Regions from separate parts of the Homo sapiens genome. Here regions 2, 3, 4, 5 and 6 are each linked to region 1. Evidence: promoter capture Hi-C in 16 types of primary human blood cells and fetal thymus (Javierre and others, 2016). All regions are on one chromosome and are shown on one strand. Each heading gives the region's core, a stretch centred on a gene start or on the middle of the fragment in contact. The rest is flanking DNA. Distances are from core to core; before and after follow the strand shown.

Region 1 (3,066 bases), core at 389-2,888:
ATCATAACTTCTTCTCCCAAGAGAAAGGTCTCTTGTAACAACTGTATTCTACAGATAATTACTAAATATGATCTTGCCTAATCTCTTTCTTCTAGTATCATAAATAAATGTATCTCCAGTTAAATATCTGGTTTTAACTCATCAAATACTCCTCTATCAGTGTCCAATTCTAAACTGGTTGACTCACCTCTGTTTTAATGAAGTGCTGGCTTCTACATGTATTTTGATCTGCAACTGAGAGCTGTATGTGTTGTAAGTACTATGTGTCTGATGATGGGCTCGCGGTGTGTTTTTCTTTTGAGTCAGGTACTACAGCTAGGCTCATGCAGCCTCATACTGAGTAGGAGATAATTATACCACAAAGTGGTAGCATAAGACAGAGATGTGCATTGGAGGAAAGGGCACATAATGATTCTGAAATTCAGACCTGTGTTTGTAGAAAACGAGGTGAGCTCCGTGTTGATAATTTTGAACACATATTTTATTGTTGTAAGGATATGGGTCATTCATAATGCAAGGGGACCATCATTCCCAACTGGGAAGCTTCTAGTATCACCTAGTCCAAAAGGTCTTAAAGAGGCATTTTACCTATTTGAGGAAGGGTATCCATTATATTTTTAAAGTACATTCTCAAACCAACTGCTTTTAAAAGGGTCTTGCAGTTAAAATGACCACATAATATCCACTACGGGATAAGTGCAAGATTGGTGCAACATTGGGACAACAGACCCAGACAGGGTCTGTCCCAGGCAAATGAAAAAACATGGGCACCTATTTATGGAGGAAAAATGCCCAAGGGTTTCTAGGCGATGAGGGCTGGAGGGTTGATTTGGTAGACTCTTCAAGAAGAGGCTTCCTCTTGCCTTTTCAAGGGGGAAATAAAGATAAACTAGGGACAATGAATTTTAAGGACTTTTCAAGGGTGTGATATCTTTGCTGCTTTCATTTTGATTTTTAAAAATCCCATGTTTCCCTTTATAATTAACAAAATCCATGAATTAAAATGGGTCTTTGTGCTAATCTTTAGGGCAGCAAGAAATGAGGCTCTTGAGAAATAGTACCCCATTTTGCTATCACCTTAGATGTTGGAGAGGGAAAGAGAGGGCGAGAGAGCTGAAAGAAATCCTTCGCAAGAAAACAAAGTAAGTGGACAGAGTAGTTGGCGGGGAACATCTGGGATTATAAACACTGGGGGCAAAGACAAGACCTTGTGAAATGCCTGACATAGTATCTCACGAACCTGATGAATAAAACCATGATATCTGGGTGACCCTGGTGACAACGCTGGGAAAGGTGAGAGGAAACAGAGAGCGCTGTGTTTGAGAGTAATGTTATTGGTTCTTTAGGAACGAGACCGTGGGCTCTTAGTGACGCTGTGGGTTCCTGAGTTGTCTGGGAGTACAGGGACTGCAGCCTCGAGTCTGTCCAGCTACGATCACTTTGGAAGGCCTTCGGTGGGATGCGGGCAGAAAGCTCCCAGTGCAAAGGGCGTGCCACGAAAACCACCAGCCAGAAACCTGAGCTGGGACAGGTGCGCTCCGCCGCCGAAGCTTTCCCCGCGGCCCCTCCCACTCCCGTCCCAGGCCCGCCCACATCCCTGTCCGGGACTTAAGTCCGGCACCGCCGCCCTCTCCCCCGCCCCGCCGCGCTAGAGCCTGGGGTCTCGGCAACTTCCGGCGGCGGGAGCTGCAGAGCGCAAGGCGCGCCCACTGCGCGTGCGCTTCGGCCCGGCTCCTCCTGCGCCCCCGGCCCCTGCGACTGGGACTTGGTACGGCCGGGCGGTTGGCGTCCTCTGCGGCTCCTGCCAGGGGCGGGCTTTTCAAATCTTCCCTTTGAAGGAGTGGCGACGGCCCGGACAGTTCGCGTTGGAGATGGAGGGGCCGAGCCTGAGGGGTCCTGCGCTCCGCCTGGCGGGGCTTCCCACCCAGCAGGTGAGTTGCGGGAGGGACCCTGCCGCGGAAGGTGAGGGAGCCGGGGTTCTGTTCCTCGCGCATTTGCTTTGTGGAGGAGTCGGGAAAGCCTCTCCCCCGCTCCTCTATTTCAGCGGTGGCCAGAAACAAAGGGAGGGATTAGGAGACTGCGCTCTTGGGGCTCTAAAGGGCCTGGACATCGGAACCCCCGAGTTTCTCAGGCAGCTGAGGTCCGGATTGGGAAGGCGGTGCCGGGGTCCAGGCGCGCGTTTGCGGGCGCACCTGTCCGCTGCCCTCCCCAGGCTTTGGACGCCTGTCTTTTTGCAGGTGTAGGTGATGCCGGGGAAATGGGAGCCCCTCGATTCCCAAGAAACCCAGCGAGGCCAGTGGACAGCTGGCTTATTACGGATTTAATGGGAAGCACAGTAATGGAGCGATGTCTACACACAACACAGAACTGGTTGGGGGGAGGGGGTTCGGAGCGGAGTAGAGGCAAACAGCAACCTCTGCACTTTAGAAAAAGTTGAAGGTTTGATACTGGGTTCTTTCTCAAATCATTTGAAAGGAAAGAGGGAGTACACGTGACATTGGATAGAAGTTTGATGTTTGCTTTTGAGCCATGTAAAATGCGTTAGAAACCTTTTTATTTTACTTTTTACTAAACCAACATTATTTCTTGGCAGCATCAGTTATTAAAATGTTACCACTTTTCACTCTTAACCATAACTTTAGGGTCTTAAAAGAAAACTCTGATGTCTTTAAGCTGGACCTTCACTTCTATTTTAATCTCTACCTTCTTTTACCTACTTCAGAAATAGGTTAAGCCATATGAAATTGCCAGTTTTGTAGGTCAAAATTGGTAGAATATTTGCAATTTCATTCATATGGAGGCACCTGATATCTTTGTTTAAAAATCTGGGATTTCCTTAGCAGACACAAAATTATTAGTTTTCAATAATACTGTGAAAAATAAAGCAAGACATTAAGATTCATTATGCAAAAGAAGTCCAGTGTCTTTATCAGTAATACTTATGCTGTTTTATGCCAGCATTTTCAAAAATTTCAAAGATTTTGATGTACTTTTTTTCAGTCCTGTCCTGTTATGTACTTTGGCTGTCCTGATTGCTAACAAAATCTTGATTTATAGTGAATTGCC
Region 2 (3,066 bases), core at 156-2,655, 500 kb after region 1:
TAAGAAAACCAAATGATTTCAGTAAAAAAAAAAAAAACCTCATATATGCATTTGAATTGCTATTGTTTAACAAATTTTATCCTCAATAGTGTGGTACTGGTATGTTTTCACAGTGTTCCAGTAACGTGGCAGTCCGTTTGGGTCAAAATGGATGAAGTTATTATCATCTTTCTTTATTTCTGGTTATTTAAAAAGTTGACTTCATTCTCCTTGAAGATGAATAGGATTTATTAGTCAAAACGTCAAAGGACTATCATAAAAGTAATTGTATTTTTATATATAATTTTTCAAACTCTTGTATACAAAATGTTCTCATTACACTTGGTGCAATAAATTCAGAGGCTGTTATGGGATGGGAGATAGCAAAATTGGGACCAATACTTTTCTAATTACTTAGGAAAATAAAAAGTGGGGCTTGGTTTTCCTTTCACAACTAAGTGATGGAGACACGACGCTCCAGAGAGTCTGTTATTCTGGCTGGTTTTGTTTGTTTCTGTGAAGTTTAGCATCACTCTCCTTGTACCAAGTCCTTAGGCCTTTTTCAATTTTTCTATTCGTGCATTAAAGGCCTCTTCCTGTATTTGCAGTTTTTCGTTTATCTCGGTCTGTGAAGACAATCATAAAAAACGTGGTTATGATGGAGCTATCTTTTGCTGCACATTGTCTTTGTGGTTTTGACATACTATAGTGCCTAAAGACAGATATTATCCCTCACACACCTTCCTGTTTTGCAGACATAGCTGTGTTTCAGCCTGTAGTGATGTGATAACACTTTATCATATTTCTCTGCACATTTCCAATGTATAGCATGTCTGCTATGAACAGGAAGTGGTATTTGGACAGCCATTTTTCACAAAGCCTTGTGTTGGAAGATAGGATAATTTATCTGTATTTTCAGACAGACTTTACCAATAAGCACTGAATCAGAATAACTGCTTTGGGCTCAGTTATTGCAGTGCTGTGGGTCCCTCCACCATCTGCAATGGATGTCTGTGTCTCCCGTGTAATACATTCTAAATGAGATCCCAGGAAGCTTCTGTTGTGAAATAACAACACAAATAACCTTACAATTAGAACAACTCCCATAATTAAGAGTATTCATCATACATTAGAACTCTTGGAATGATGCCACTTTCTGATATATTTTTGGTAAAAAAAGTAAGCAATTGCTCTCAGGTTTTGTGATTGCCGAGGTGGTGATAGCATTTTGCCTCTGGCAGCGATCTTCTGTGGACTCACATTGCTACCTGCACAATTCCATAAATACGTTCACATTAACTGAACATTAGTAGCCCTGGAAATGTCTTCCCTTTTTCACAAGGGATAATAAAATTACATACAGAAAAAGCAGTGGTGGTTGACGTGGCAAAATTGATGTTTTTGTTGTTGTTTAGGTGATTTTTAAAATGTCTACCGCTGTATAAGGAGTAGCTTATACACATATGTGTTAATAAATTCAAAGTTTGGATTTCTAATAGCTATAACATTATTTGAGGGCTTCAGGGTAACTGTACTTTGCAAACCTTTTATTATTTTAATTTAGATAGAAGACATTTAAAAAAATCAAATACTGTTTTAAGCCCAGATATAATTTTTCATATTTATTTACAAGAGTGTAACTATAACAGATAGTTGTGACATGTCCATGCTGCCTTATCTGATGAGATTTGATTTCACCTCACAGTAAGATTTGATATTTCTGGAAAGATCGTATGTGTGCCAACAATTCTGGGTTCAGAACTCACATAAGTATCAGTCTTTTCTGGTTCAAGCTTTAGTAAACCTTGGGATCAAGCTCCGGCCTCTGGTTTCTTATCTTTTCCTTTCTTGGTGGTTGGGTGGAGGAGGCAAGGAGGGATGGAGCGGTCCTCCAGGTCACAGAGGAACTCTTCCTTTAGGATGCACTGACTCTAAAGAAATCATCATCTATGCATGATTTTAGGTAGGGTCGAAAGAAGCACTGATCTTGGACTGGGAAGATCTAGGTACTAGTTCAGCTACGTCACCTTAGGTAAGTCATTTCACCACCTGGATTTTAGCTCTTACCTTAAAAATTAAGTAGGGGAATAGGATTATGTTAATATCAAACTTTAGTTTTTGAATTCATAATTCCAACTTCCAATTTTGTGATATACTTCACCAATGTTATCTTTCATTGTTATGATGTCATGAAATACTTAAAAATCTGTTACTCCTGCCTTATTAAAATAAATTTATGGGATACAACATATTGGACCACATAGGGATTAAAATGGTTTGAAATAATTTTACCACAATTTCAAAGGATTGGGAAGAATTGCGCCACTCAAACAATCGATTCTTCCCACTTTCAATTAATGTCCCTCTATGCCCACCAGTAATCTCATTTCTTTTCAGCTAAGGATTGATGTGCTTATCATCTACCAGTTTCTGTTTCACTACCACATAGGGATTTTACATTCACTTGGAGGCCTTTCTGGTATTTTACCGAGACAGAATTTATCAAAACAAGTGTAGGCCTTGGGAAAAGGTTCATGAAGGGGCAGCTAAGAGAGTGGCATACTGACAGAGGTGAGTAATGTCTCAGATCTCCAGACCTTAGGCTTAGTACTTTAGTTCAGTCACAACCAGCAGAGTTTGGATCTAAAGGCTCCACGTCTAGTCAATAACAGGCTGTCATTAGCCGTGTTTCCTTGTCATTCTTCAGAACTTTGCTGAACAGACAAGCAATCCTGCAAATACTATGGTTGGGTCTGGTTCTTTTTTTTTTTTTTAAGGAAAAAAAATATGTTCAGTAGTCTCTCATTGACCACTTCTTTGAGATGATTTCATGCTCAGCTTTTCTAACCTGGAAAATTCAAGTTGACCTAAAAACATCTAGGGTCCCAAGATGGCAAACTTCCCTCAAAGTTTTTATATTATATTACCCTATTGCTTCCACAGGGCCAACAGCCAACATGTAATGTAAGAATTTAGTGTTAGCATTCATATTTCTCTGAAATGTAATTCTTTAAATATATTTAAGTTTGCTCCCTTGGGTATAATTTTTATTACACAACTCAGGGCCAAAATAATTTCATTTTGAAT
Region 3 (3,066 bases), core at 209-2,708, 380 kb after region 1:
GTCTAATTTGCATTTGGAAATACAGAAGCTTGCATATAATTCTGTGAGCAAATATAATTATGCTTTCCCTTGCCTGCTCAACATGGGTCATTATAGGTGAAAGACAGCACAACTGGGAACTGCTGGACCTGGAGGGACAGTGTCATGCATAGACCAAGAAAAGTTCATGTTGACAACATGTCAAGGCTTGTTTCGTATGGTTTAAATTGGGTTTCATGAAGTGGAAAACAATGCATGAAACCATTCTTGTTCTTTGTTCTTCAAAACACATGAAAATATTGGGAAGATTTAAATGTAGGAGTTAACATGACACTTAATGTCTCTTTGTGCCTTTGTTTATGTCATTACTTCTTCTGGATGTCCCTCAATTTGCCTTCTCACCATACCCACCCAGAGAAGTCCAACATGCCAACTGAAAAATGGACAAACAATAAGAGTAGTCCATTGCCTTAAGTGCTTACATGCATGCATCTAACTCTATACGGCAATCACTAATATTGTTCTCATTCTAGATGAAGACACTGAGGCACAGAGAGGATATGTAACTGGCTTGAAATCATTAAATTCAGAGGCAGAGACTGAATTCAGACTCGAGTAGTCAGTCTCCAGGGTCTGTGCTCTCAAGAACACACTTTACCAAGTTTTTGATGGCATTGTAAAGGATTTTAGAGAAGAAAAAATTAAAATGTTTGCTGAATGTATTAAAATTAAAAAATAAAATTATGTTTATGACCCACCAACTTGGCAAATATTTTAAATAGTGGCTGGTGGTGGGGAGGAAGTGAGAAAATGGAATTTGCCCTGCTGGTGGGAGTGCCAGTTTGTACAGTCCTTCTGAAAGACAAATTGGCAGTACAGTATGTAATAAGTCCCTTGGAACATACTGCTAGACCCAGAAATTTTACTCCCATGAATTTATCCTAAGGACAATTTTGGAGAAGTTCACAAAAAATGAATGCATAAAATTTATGTAAGAACATTGTTTAAAATAGCAAAAAGTTGGAAACAACATAAATAATTTACAATGGTGGATTGGTTAAATAAATTATGGTACAACTCTAATAAAAAATATGCAGATATTAAGAATGTAATAGAACCATGTTTACTGACATGGAAAGATGTTCAAAATAATGTTAAGTTTAAAAAGAAAATAGTTTTTAACTTAAAACATAAGTTTATGTCAATAGTAGAATTAAGACAGTTACAGATTTCTTTGTGGTGTTTGGTAGTTTCCAATGTATTACTTATATAAAAAATAAAAATAGACCAGGTGAGGTGGCTCACACCTGTAATCCCAACATTTTGGGAGGCCGAGGCGGTTGGATCGCTTGAGCCTAGGAGTTCAAGACGAGCCTAGGCAACATGGTGAAAGCCCCTCTCCACAAAAAATGAAAAAATTAACTGGGCAGGGTGGTGTGTGCCTGTGGTCCCAGCTATTCAGGAGGCAGAGCTGGGAGAATCACCTGAAGCTGGAAGGTCAAGATTGCAGTGAGCCGGGAATGCACCCCTGCATTCCAGCCTGGGTGACAGAAAGAGACTCTGTCACAAAAAGAAACAAACAAACAAACAAAACCACACACACAAAAACCCCTAGATCTTCCTTGCCTTAGCCATTGGAAAACTTTTTTCATATGTGCAAAACAGGCAGTGACTCTAACCAGAGTGAGTTTAAAGTAAAATTAATTGTTAACGTTCATTGAGCACTTATTATGGGCTAGGAGCTCTGTTAAATACTTTAAATGATTTCTTTTCATCCTTACAACTCTTCTGATGTGAGCACTCTGTCTTTTTACAGTTCAGAAAACTGAAGCACAAAAAGATTTAAATAACTTGCTCCAAGTTCACTGAGAAGGCAGCTTCTAAGGGGATGTAAATAATTTGTAGGATTCAGAAATGAAAGAATAAAGTTGGCCTTTGGGCATTAAAGCACCATCTCCTATGGATAGGAACGTTAGCTAGTTAGCCCAACACAGAAGATCAGTTTAGATCTTCTGGTTAAAAATAAAACCATTCATTGAGATCGAGCCCTGAGGGAACTCGGGATGGGTAAACAGCTATATTGTGTGACTTTTTACCTTGCAGTTAACTTCTCTGCCAGATAGAAAGTGCTTTACTAGTAGATTTCTTTTTCCTTTGTATCTCACACAAAGCCTATCCCACCCGAGGAGGAGCCTGAGAGAAAGTCACTTCAATTCAATTTTGGTAATTTAGAGATTTTGCTTGGCACGCAGTCTCCTTCCAATACTTGTCTCTATAAACATTGATCTTCTCTACCTCTCTGAGGGTCTCTACCCTTGGTATGTCGCTGTTCCTCATCATTTAGTAGCTGGGAAATATAAAGGCAGAAGTCCTAAATCTGTGGCAACTTTAGAACTTCTAAATAGTAGAGCCCTGGAGGTAGTAGCACAGTTGGAGGGAGGTGGCTGGACACTCTAAGTTGTGTCTACATAGTACTTAACACAAGAGTGAGAAGGTGTCAGGTGTGTGAATCAAAGAATGGGCTACTGATAAGTGACTTAGCCCTGAGGAAGGGTAATGAATAGTGACCAGGCTCCAAAGAAAATGTGCCCAGTGCCCTAATCCTTGGGTCTCTGCTTAACCTCAGCATGCCTTCAGACACAGAGGAATTGCTTTCAGTGATTGAGTTATCATCAATATTCTATCTCAGATGGAGGGAACCAGGATCTTGAAAAGACAGAAAACTTTTATGACTATTATTCTTTTGTTCATGACATTTATGTTTCTGAAATGCCTCTACTTATTCTCTCTCTCATGATCCATTGCAACCCAACTCAAGTGCCCCCACCTCCTTCTATAAAGAATTCTCTGTTGCTACCAGACATATTGAGAATGATCTCAATATACCTGGAACTGCATAGAAAGCTTGGACTGCTTTCCTTGGCTGTGTCTTTTTAAATAAGTCGTATAGCTATATTCTTCTGGCCTTGAGGGACAGGAACCCTATTACATAACAAAAATGACAAAACAATGCCAACAACTAGCATGGCACAAGCCTATTTATTTCAATAGAGAGAAGCCTAGTGGTTTAAGGTATACATCATCTAG
Region 4 (3,066 bases), core at 210-2,709, 360 kb after region 1:
CGAACACTGGAAGTATTATATATGAAGGCATTGGTGTATATAAGCATATAAATCATCACCATCATCATTAAAATGAATAGTAAGTTGTTAATGCTCATTAATAACTATTAAAATATAACTGTTATCATTATATACCACTGATTAGAATTAGCTTAACTTTACAGGATAAGGATAGTTTTGCTACCTAGACATCTGGTGACCTTTGGCAAAACTGATTAACTAGTTACAATTCTAAAATGTCTGAGGGACTGTTCACATTAGTACACACTTCTAGAATGTAATATGATGAATTCAAGCTCTGCTTTCAAGGGTAGGTTTCACTGGGGAGAAAAGATAACCTTGAATTTCAAGGAGGCCTGGGTTCTAGCCTGGTGACCTTTGACAAACCACATAACCTTTCCGAGTCTATGTCCCCATCTGTAAAATGGGTGTACAAAGTCCTGCCTTATCCAGCCTCCCACAATTTATTACAAAAATCATGAGAAAATATTCCAAAAAAAAAAAAACCCTCTGCAAATCACAGCAAACCACACAGGGACGCTATTTCTAATCTTGCACAATGATCATTTTTCTGCTTTTAGAACTGACGTCTTTACATTTCAAGAAATCATAAAAAGGCAGAATGATTCTCTTAAACCAAAAAAAGCATACTGAGTCCTGGCTGTCCTTTCGAAATGGATGCTGATGTCAGCTCAATCAAGAAATTATTAATCTCCATTTGGTTACTTAAAATAAACTGTACTGGCTGATTAAATGTGCTGAACATTTTCTCCAAGTAACAGTGCATATCACCAAGAAACCTTTCTCTTTCAGTTACACATTGCAAATGGCAAATGCATCATTCAAAACTATTTAAAATCAATAATAAAAATCATTTAAATGTATATAAACAAGTTAATGGAATAAGTGAAAACAAAGCAAATTTCTTAATGAGAGGGCCCTGTTGCCCCCTCTAGGTGCCAGCAGTAAATGCTGGTTTCTGTAAGGCTCTCCTCCAGAGAAGACTGCTGCTGCTATTCTGCTAATGAATGACTAACTTAGGCCAGGGGGGAAATGACATCACCAGGGTGGAAAACCGATCTGCATTGGGAAACTTTCTACCTGCTTTACATTTGTCATAATTATTTTGCACAATGCAGTCTGCATTTGCATAATTTTGAGGCGTGTCATTATCTCAATTGAAAATTGTTTTAATATGGCTGAATAATTCACAATGACATCAGCCAAAGTCCTAATGAAATATACAAGTATAATCATACAGCTAATTACCAGCCGTGTTAGCATTAAAAAACAAATCATGCATAATATTAGACGATGTATATGCAGCTGAGGATTATAAATAGAGCCATCTCCCTCCGCAAACCCCCTAGAGTTTACTTTTAAATGGCAAGATTAATTTTCTCAGGTATGGCTCATATAGCAGTGACGAAATGCACAGATCATTACAATGGTTCCCTTTCAATTCCCCATAATGAACAATTAAAAAGAAATCGTGTATTTAAAAATATATCTATTCACTGTCAACACTTCTAGCAGATGCAACGTTTGGCAAATATAGCCTTTATTCTTAAATCAGAATTCACCATTTAATTACACCAACAAAAATTAAAACTGTACCAAGTGGGGTCAACTCAGGGTCTTTAAAAAACATCCCAATTTCAATTCCCCGCCCCCCAAAAAAGAGTGACCACAAAATATCCCATAAAACACTGAATAATTTCCTCCTGGACTTAGTCAGAAGTCTGTTAAGCACCAGTTCTTTTCTGGATATTTAATCCTTCCCTTTTCCAGATCACAGGCCATGTTGAAGTAATAAATTTGAAAAGCAAATAATAAGAAATCAGGAGGGGGAGAGGGAGGGGGAGGAAGACAGCTGCGCAGGAAAGTTGGGTCGGGGGAGGGGGCCGAGCCAGACCTTGGGAGGGGGAAAGAGCTCAACCTGTTGGTAGGTTGCAGGATTTTTCACAGTATTTCCAAACAACACCTTTTTAAAATTGCAGGCGGACGTCGGGAAATATGAACATTTAAAAACCAAAGCTGGCCGGGGAGGGTGGAGGGGGGAGGTGAGCGGGGAGGTGGGAGGGGCTTATTTCCGAAAAGGCAGATTCGAGGGCGAACGTTTCGACGAACTCCAGTAATTAACCGGCATAGACCACTGACGAGTAATTCGATCCTGGGGAGAGGGAGTGAACTAGCAATGCCAAAAGTACTATCAACTCGATCAAACCGAGGAATTCTGGAAGGACTGGCAGCTCCGAGCCCCGGGATGAGTTAAACGGGAAACCATTCATTTAACAAAAAGATCCTTAGATCCTTACACCTACCTCGAAAGCTCGAGAGCCTGGCACAGCACTAGCTGCCCTCAAAAGTCTGTTTGATTACCCTGCTCTCGCTTTGGCAACACAAAGCCTCGCCAGGCGGCAGTGCGCCCTCCCTCCCCGCTGCGCCGTGGGCACAGACTCCCCAAAATAGTTCCCCTCGGTAGGTACCACGGCGCTGAGGTCGGTCAGCTGAGGAGGGGAGCCCGCAGAACTGCGGTCACACATGAAATGACAGAGCCGAAGGGAGGCGGCCGCCCCGGCGCCCAGTGACAGCGGGCTCACCTCCGGCGTCCTCCCGGGAGCGCGGCGAGCGCCCCCGCGGCCGCCCAGAAACGTGCCGGGGAGGCTCTGTCCCCTCCCCGCCCTCCCCGGGAGCGCCGTCTGGGCACGGAGAACGCTGGACCCGCAGGGCCAGTGGGCGAGCACACACCCCTCTGCCCTCCCCTCCCCCGCCCCCGTCCCACACACCCCCAAAGATCGCGCAGGAGGACGTCCACTTTGCGTGGAGTAATTGCAAACTAGAACATCAAATGGCTTGTCCGGGGGGAGGGGGAGTGGGCGAGAGATAGTTGTTAATGCTTAACGTGTTTGTGCCTGTTACACCACCGCTTTGAAATCCGCCCGGGCAGATCTGCAAGTTATTTGAATGTATTATTCCAGTACCTGTCATTTATCACTTTATTCAACACGTCTTTGCCAACTCAATAGCTTTTGATCTCATTCTGCCTCCATTTCGTAATTTCCG
Region 5 (3,066 bases), core at 260-2,759, 350 kb after region 1:
AGAAACACACCTGGGACAAGAATCCCTCTCATGTGGATTTTTAGGTCTTCTTTCCATGGCCGTATGCCAACATGATTTAAAGCCTCTCCTCAACCACTGTGCATGAAACATACCTATTTTCTTTTTTTGAGACGGAGTCTCACTCTGTCACCCAGGCTGGAGTGCAGTGGCATGATCTCGGCTCACTGCAACCTCCACCTCCCGGGTTCAAGCGATTCTCCTGCCTCAGCCTCCCAAGTAGCTGGGACTACAAGCATGTGCCACCACGCCCAGCTAATTTTTGTATTTTTAATACAGACAGGGTTTCATCATGTTGGCCAGGCTAGTCTTGAACTCCTGACCTCAGGTGATCCACCCGCCTTGGCCTCCCAAAGTGCTGGGATTACAGGCGTGAGCCACCATGCCCGGCCCAAACATGCCTATTTTCTTATGCATTAAGGAGCCTGTTTATATCAGCTACAGGATCCTCCTTCCTCATTTCTCTCTGCCGATTTCTCATCTAACCAGACACAATGCCCTTTCCAGCAAAACTCTCCAAATGCAATGATCAAGACATTAGATGTAAAAAAGACCCGATATGGCTTGTTGACATGCTGTAAGACTAACAAATCTTCAAAAGATTAGGCAATCTGCAGTCTACTGTGTATGTCATCTATAGTTATATGCCCTGAAGAGCGGGGAGATATTTGGGAGGAACCATCCAAGGAGACTGTATCAAAAAATTAGCCGGGCACAGTGGTGCACGCCTGTGGTCCCAGCTATTTGGAAGGCTGAGGTGGGAGGATCGCTTGAGCCAGGGAGGTCGAGGCTGCAGTGAGCCGTGGTCACACTACTGCACTCCGACCCAGGTGACAGAGTGAGACTCTGTCTCAAAAATAAATAAATAGATAAACAACTAATAAAAGGGAAAAAAGGAAAAAAGTAAAACAGAGTAAGAAGAATACCTTTCAACCCTCATCAGATGAGCTGTACACTGAAGTGATTGGCTCTGTTGCCAGCTGTAATAGGTGGCCTCGAAGATGGTCCCCTGAGATTATATGCAACCTCCTAATAATCTCCTGCTCTTGGGTGTGGGCTAGACAATAATGCCTCACTTCTAACAAACAGAATTAGGCAAAAGTGATGGGATGTCACTTCCAGCATCAGGTTATAAAAGGACTATGGCTTGTGTCTCATTCCTACACCTTACACTCTGAGGGGAGTCCGTTGCCATGTTTGAGTTGCCCTATGGAGAGGCCCATGTGGCCCAGCAAGGAAGCCAGGGAGACCCAGACCCACTGCCTGAGAGGAACTGAGGGCCTCAGTCCAACAGCCTGAGAGATCTGAGACCTGTCAACAGGCAAGTGAGTGGGTCTGAAGTATTAATAGATCCTCCCTCTACAGAGCTTTCAGATGGCCACAGCTGGGGAGGACACCTTGACTGGAGCTTTGAGAGTCCCTTAGCAAGAGGCACCCAGCTAAGCCTTACTCAGACTTGCCACCCACAGAAACTGTGGATAGTAAGTGTTGTTTTAACAAGACACCAAATCTGGGGTAATCTGTTACACAACAATAGATAACCGATACAACCATCTTTAACACAGGACACATTTACACACCATTGTATGACAATAAAATAAAGTTTGTAAAATGAGGTGCTAAATATGTTTCAAGTATTCCTAGAAATTAGATAATTTTCTGCAGAGTTGACGACAAACCAATAGTAAAATACTTCATGCAACTGCCTAAATCCTAAATCAACTGCCTGTATGAGAGATCTTTCATTTTGGAGGGGTATCCATAGAAATTTCTAAGAATACTATCTAACAATGTGAGTGTATTTTTCAGTATGAAAGAGGCCATATAATCTTGCCAAGTATGGCTAACTTGAACATGTTTGATCTCCTCTAACTAGAGAGAAAGAAGCTGATTTTATTCATCCCCTTATCACCCCCCATAGTACCCTGGTACATCCTAATAAATATTGATTGAATTTAATTGAATAAAAGGTTATAGTCAAAGGCCCATATTTAAAAATATAAATGTTATATTTTTTCAAGAGCAATATTATGTTATGCCCTTAACTACCATATGAGAATTCCAAGCCCCATCTTCCTTTTTTTTCCATCTACTCATTTAAGAGTCATCTTTTATTTGGGAGGCCAAGGCAGGCGGATAACCTGAGGTCAGGAGTTCGAGACCAGCCTGGCCAACATGGCGAAACCTGTCTCTACTAAAAATACAAAAAAAAATTAGTCAGGCATGGTGGCACACGCCTGTAATCCCAGCTACTCAGGAGGCTGAGGCCTGAGGAGCATCGCTTGAACCCAGGAGGCGGAGGTTGTAGTGAGCCGAGATTGCGCCATTGCACTCCTGCCTGGGCAACAAAAGTGAAACTTCTCAGGAAAAAAAAAAAAAAAAACAAAGATTCATCTTTTAAAGACCAATTAGAAAAGTCAGCTGGCACAGCTGAGCAGTTAGAACTGTATTAACTGTAAGTACAATCTGCAGACCCTGTCCTCCTGTCCCTCAATCTTCATGGCCAAGACTGAAGCAAGATTCCTCTTGGCTTAAGCAGAGAGAAAAAAGGACACACAAAAAGCCTGTAAAGATTAAGGCAAAAAGAAAAAAAAATTAAGACAACTGAGATATCTCAATATTCTGACATGCTGAGAATGTTTTTACTCCACTGCCTCAAGGGGTCATTTAAGGAATTCTGGGGGTCAGGAGAGATGTGAACACCTGCTTGGCTGTCTCTTGAATTACTGATCTAGTAATATCAAAAATGTGGAGTGAGAAAGAGGACCTATAATGTAAAGAAATAAAAACAAACCCAGAGCTTGTTGATAATTTTTAGACACCACCATTTATGTGATTCATACGATCTGCATTTAAAAAAAAAAACTTCAGTCTTTTTACTAGAGCCCTCTTTCTTGTCTGTCCAGATAGTTAGGGATGCATATTTTACAACCAATGCATTGTTGCTAAAAACACACTCAGCCCCCAGGAGCACAAAATACTATTAGACTATTACAGAGAATATTCACAAGGAACAGATTATTTCACTTAAGAAATATCGAATTCAGT
Region 6 (3,066 bases), core at 413-2,912, 330 kb after region 1:
GGGGAAGCTACTCTTTCTCAATTTGATGGGACAGATTTAGAAACAGAAATTGAACTGAGGGAACCCCCATCATTAAATTCAGCCAGACCCCCACACATAATCTTTGGGTCTTTTTTCTCAGTTTCAGCTCAGACTCCTCTATCTTTTCTTTCTTTTTCTAAAGACACATTTGGAGATGAAACCATTCATAACTGCCCATCCACAGACAGTTTGTGGCAGCATAATTGACAATGAGTCTGCTGCAAAAAAATGAAAATGCTGTTTTAATAACCTTGGCCTAAAATACATTCTGTTGTATGCCTCAAAGGGCTTCAATAAAAAGTCAACCTGTAGAGACATATTTTCTTGGCTTAAACAACAATCCAAAGCATATAAATGTAGTCCAACTATAATGACATATTTATAGGCCAATAAAGCTTACACTGCAGCTTTCATACTTCGCTTAAAGGAACTCTGTAAGAATCAGTGTTACATAAAATAATTTGATTTTTTTTTCAAACTATAGCCCAAGGAATAAAAAAATGCAAGTTTGCTATGTTTAACTGATAGTGTTTATATTCCTTACTTACTAAAAATTTTGTAAAATGAAATAATTCTTCATTTGACTACTTTCAACTGCCATACCAAATATGGGTATCAAGTCCACTTTATTATAAAAGCTAAGTACTGTAATTCTAAAGACAAAAATAAATAACTAGAGGCTTGTGTGGTGAATGATTTAATCAACCCAATTCTTCTGGAAAAACAGGTTCTTGTGTTCATTATGCTTATGAATAATACATTCCTTAACCCTCCTATTTTAACATAGTTATTTTTCTTTTTTTTTTATAAACTTCAGTATGAAACAGTCTGAAAGAAGGTAAAATATCTCACTGAGTAAAGTCATAATTTGCATTGGTTTCATATTGAACTTTCTTTCTTTGAAAAGGACAAAGAGGAGGGAAGAGAATGAATGCACTTTACCACATTTCAGAAGTGTTTTTTAAGATTATTAGTTTTTCCACTATCCAGATCTGTAGTTTTAGTCATCAACCATTAAGAGTCTTAAATGAAAACTCTAGAGAGTTTTAAAAAGCAGAAAGATGACATCCTCAAATATTGTCTAAATGTGCTCCCTCAAGGGGGAAGGGGATAAAAAAAAAATGAAAGAGTTGTGATTTGAATCAGAGCATTTATTGGAAGCTGCCATGTGGGGCAGAGTTTCTCTTTGTGGAGTATTAATTTGTTGGCAGACACACATTTGTGAGAACATTCTTGTTTTTTTTTTTTACTATTCAGAGAGAGACAGGAAGTGACACAAACTGGAATTAAAGCGAACTTATTCTACCTAAACACTAAGCAAGAAAAGTGCTTTAATGAGCTTTTATATTTTAAAATCCCTTCTCTAAGAACCAATCTAATTATTTTGTTATTATTCATGTTTCAACATTATGAAATAACTCAGTTAAAAAACGATAACATGTTGGAGTTTTACTTTATCCATAGAAAGGTGAGATCTTTCCGTTCTTTGCTTACTTCCACCAGAAAAAAAGGGGGGGGGCCTCAAATAATCTCACAGTTCATCTTCTTTCTTTGGTAAGAACAATGAGGAGTTGGAAGGGTTCTACAGAAGGAAAAACCTAATAAGTGTGTGAATTTCCATTAACAATGTGGTATTGGAGGTGGTTTCAGTGTGACCAACAGAAAAGGAGATAAGAAAACCACTGCGGAGAAAGAAAAGTACAGACAACAAATATTTTGATGTTATAGAAGAGGCTGAAGAGAAAGTTGTGGGGACAGGAATGTGTACAGAAAATGACACCCCCTATCTCCTCAATATAAATCCTGACAATGTAGACTTACAAACCTTAGATTAGGCAGATAATGGAAACTCATTACATTAAGGAAAGTTTTTGTTTCTCTTTCCACATTATTACAACACAGTGTGCATTCCAATTACAAAAGCTATTTGTCTCAAATTCCCCACAGTTCATAGCAACTGAGTAGAATTTCAAGGCCCTAAATTCTATCCTTAAAGGGGTATTTTACATTAAAAATTTTTTAAGTACATGGTGTTTCTTGTGCCCCAGGAGAGAGCCTCCCAATCAACTCTCCTGTTGATCATTTTCCCTTCTTCAGCACTAATCATAAAGCTGTCTCCAAAATGAGACCAAAACAAACAAACAAAATCAGACTCAACCTAAAAGCCTTTTTTGTTTTGTTTTGTTTTGTTTTTGAGACAGAGCCTCGCTGTTGTCGCCCAGGCTGGAGTGCAAAGGTGTGATGATTTCGGCTCACTGCAACCTCTGCCTCCCAGGTTCCAGCAATTCTCTTGCCTCAGCCTCCCAAGTAGCTGAGATTACAGGCCCCTGCCACCACACGTGACTAATTTTTCTATTTTTAGTAGAGATGGGGTTTCACCATGTTGGCCAGGCTGGTCTTGAACTCCTGACCTCAGGTGATCCACCTGCCTCGGCCTCCCAAAGTGCTGGGATTACAGGCGTGAGCCACCGCACCCGGCCAGGAACCTTTTTATCAATACACATTCATTGGCCTTTCCTTACTCCTACTGAATGAAGAATCTAGAAAAGCTGGTCTCAGTAATCAGTATTGTTTTTTAAATTTCTTTCTTGAGTCTAATAAGCAACTAAATTTAAAAACCACTCATCTAGATTTTCCAGGCCAAACCACCTGCAAGTACTGTGAATATTCACTATAAACCAATTTCTTCTGGAATCAACTGCAAAAAGGTAGAATATGGACCTTCTTTTTTTTTAGAATCCAAGAGGATCAACCTTTTATTTCTTTGGGTGGAATTAAGAAATTAGACTTATTTTCCTGTTCATTAATAAATTATCCATTTTAAACACAATTTTAAACATAAACCTTGCTATAAATACTCTTGTTTATATGTGTGACATCAAGCTTAACCATCTACACATCCTTTTGTCCCCTGTGGGTTTCCTGTTTAATTTTTTATTAGTAACAGTATATTCCATAACACACACACACAAAATTAAACAAACAAAAGAAAGGTTTTAATGTTAAGGAAAACATAAGACAATGGTAATACAACTTAGATCATAC

Evidence for each region. The method cuts DNA at HindIII sites, captures the fragments that hold promoters and counts their contacts. A CHiCAGO score of 5 or more calls a contact.
Region 2: a contact is called between a fragment that was not itself captured here and the fragment with the promoter of RTKN2 in region 1, in 1 of 17 cell types (total CD4 T cells). The highest score is 5.0, in total CD4 T cells.
Region 3: a contact is called between a fragment that was not itself captured here and the fragment with the promoter of RTKN2 in region 1, in 4 of 17 cell types (neutrophils, non-activated CD4 T cells, activated CD4 T cells and 1 more). The highest score is 7.3, in neutrophils.
Region 4: a contact is called between a fragment that was not itself captured here and the fragment with the promoter of RTKN2 in region 1, in 1 of 17 cell types (fetal thymus). The highest score is 5.1, in fetal thymus.
Region 5: a contact is called between a fragment that was not itself captured here and the fragment with the promoter of RTKN2 in region 1, in 1 of 17 cell types (neutrophils). The highest score is 6.4, in neutrophils.
Region 6: a contact is called between a fragment that was not itself captured here and the fragment with the promoter of RTKN2 in region 1, in 1 of 17 cell types (neutrophils). The highest score is 5.3, in neutrophils.

Annotation. Positions count from the first base shown.
Region 1 is chr10:62,267,416-62,270,481 of GRCh38, reverse strand. It overlaps RTKN2 (rhotekin 2), which reads left to right and starts at 1,638. Exons shown (of 12, transcript NM_145307.4): 1 at 1,638-1,931. The coding sequence starts at 1,872. All of the region lies in intron 1 of LINC02621 (long intergenic non-protein coding RNA 2621), which reads right to left. RefSeq lists a silencer at 1,557-1,886. The HindIII fragment of the contact is 2,285 bases long and covers 1,553-3,066 here.
Region 2 is chr10:61,763,478-61,766,543 of GRCh38, reverse strand. It overlaps CABCOCO1 (ciliary associated calcium binding coiled-coil 1), which reads right to left. Exons shown (of 8, transcript NM_001366906.2): 8 at 1-605. The coding sequence ends at 531. Among named protein-coding and RNA genes, the nearest start is that of CABCOCO1, 100 kb to the right of the region's middle. The HindIII fragment of the contact is 739 bases long and covers 1,036-1,774 here.
Region 3 is chr10:61,885,735-61,888,800 of GRCh38, reverse strand. No RefSeq gene overlaps it. Among named protein-coding and RNA genes, the nearest start is that of ARID5B, 14 kb to the left of the region's middle. The HindIII fragment of the contact is 2,855 bases long and covers 31-2,885 here.
Region 4 is chr10:61,902,886-61,905,951 of GRCh38, reverse strand. The region is part of intron 2 of ARID5B (AT-rich interaction domain 5B); the gene reads right to left. Among named protein-coding and RNA genes, the nearest start is that of ARID5B, 2.7 kb to the right of the region's middle. RefSeq lists a silencer at 2,502-2,821. The HindIII fragment of the contact is 4,018 bases long and covers 1-3,066 here.
Region 5 is chr10:61,919,665-61,922,730 of GRCh38, reverse strand. The region is part of intron 2 of ARID5B (AT-rich interaction domain 5B); the gene reads right to left. Among named protein-coding and RNA genes, the nearest start is that of ARID5B, 19 kb to the right of the region's middle. RefSeq lists an enhancer at 1,276-1,455. The HindIII fragment of the contact is 7,128 bases long and covers 1-3,066 here.
Region 6 is chr10:61,941,945-61,945,010 of GRCh38, reverse strand. The region is part of intron 3 of ARID5B (AT-rich interaction domain 5B); the gene reads right to left. Among named protein-coding and RNA genes, the nearest start is that of ARID5B, 42 kb to the right of the region's middle. The HindIII fragment of the contact is 2,488 bases long and covers 419-2,906 here.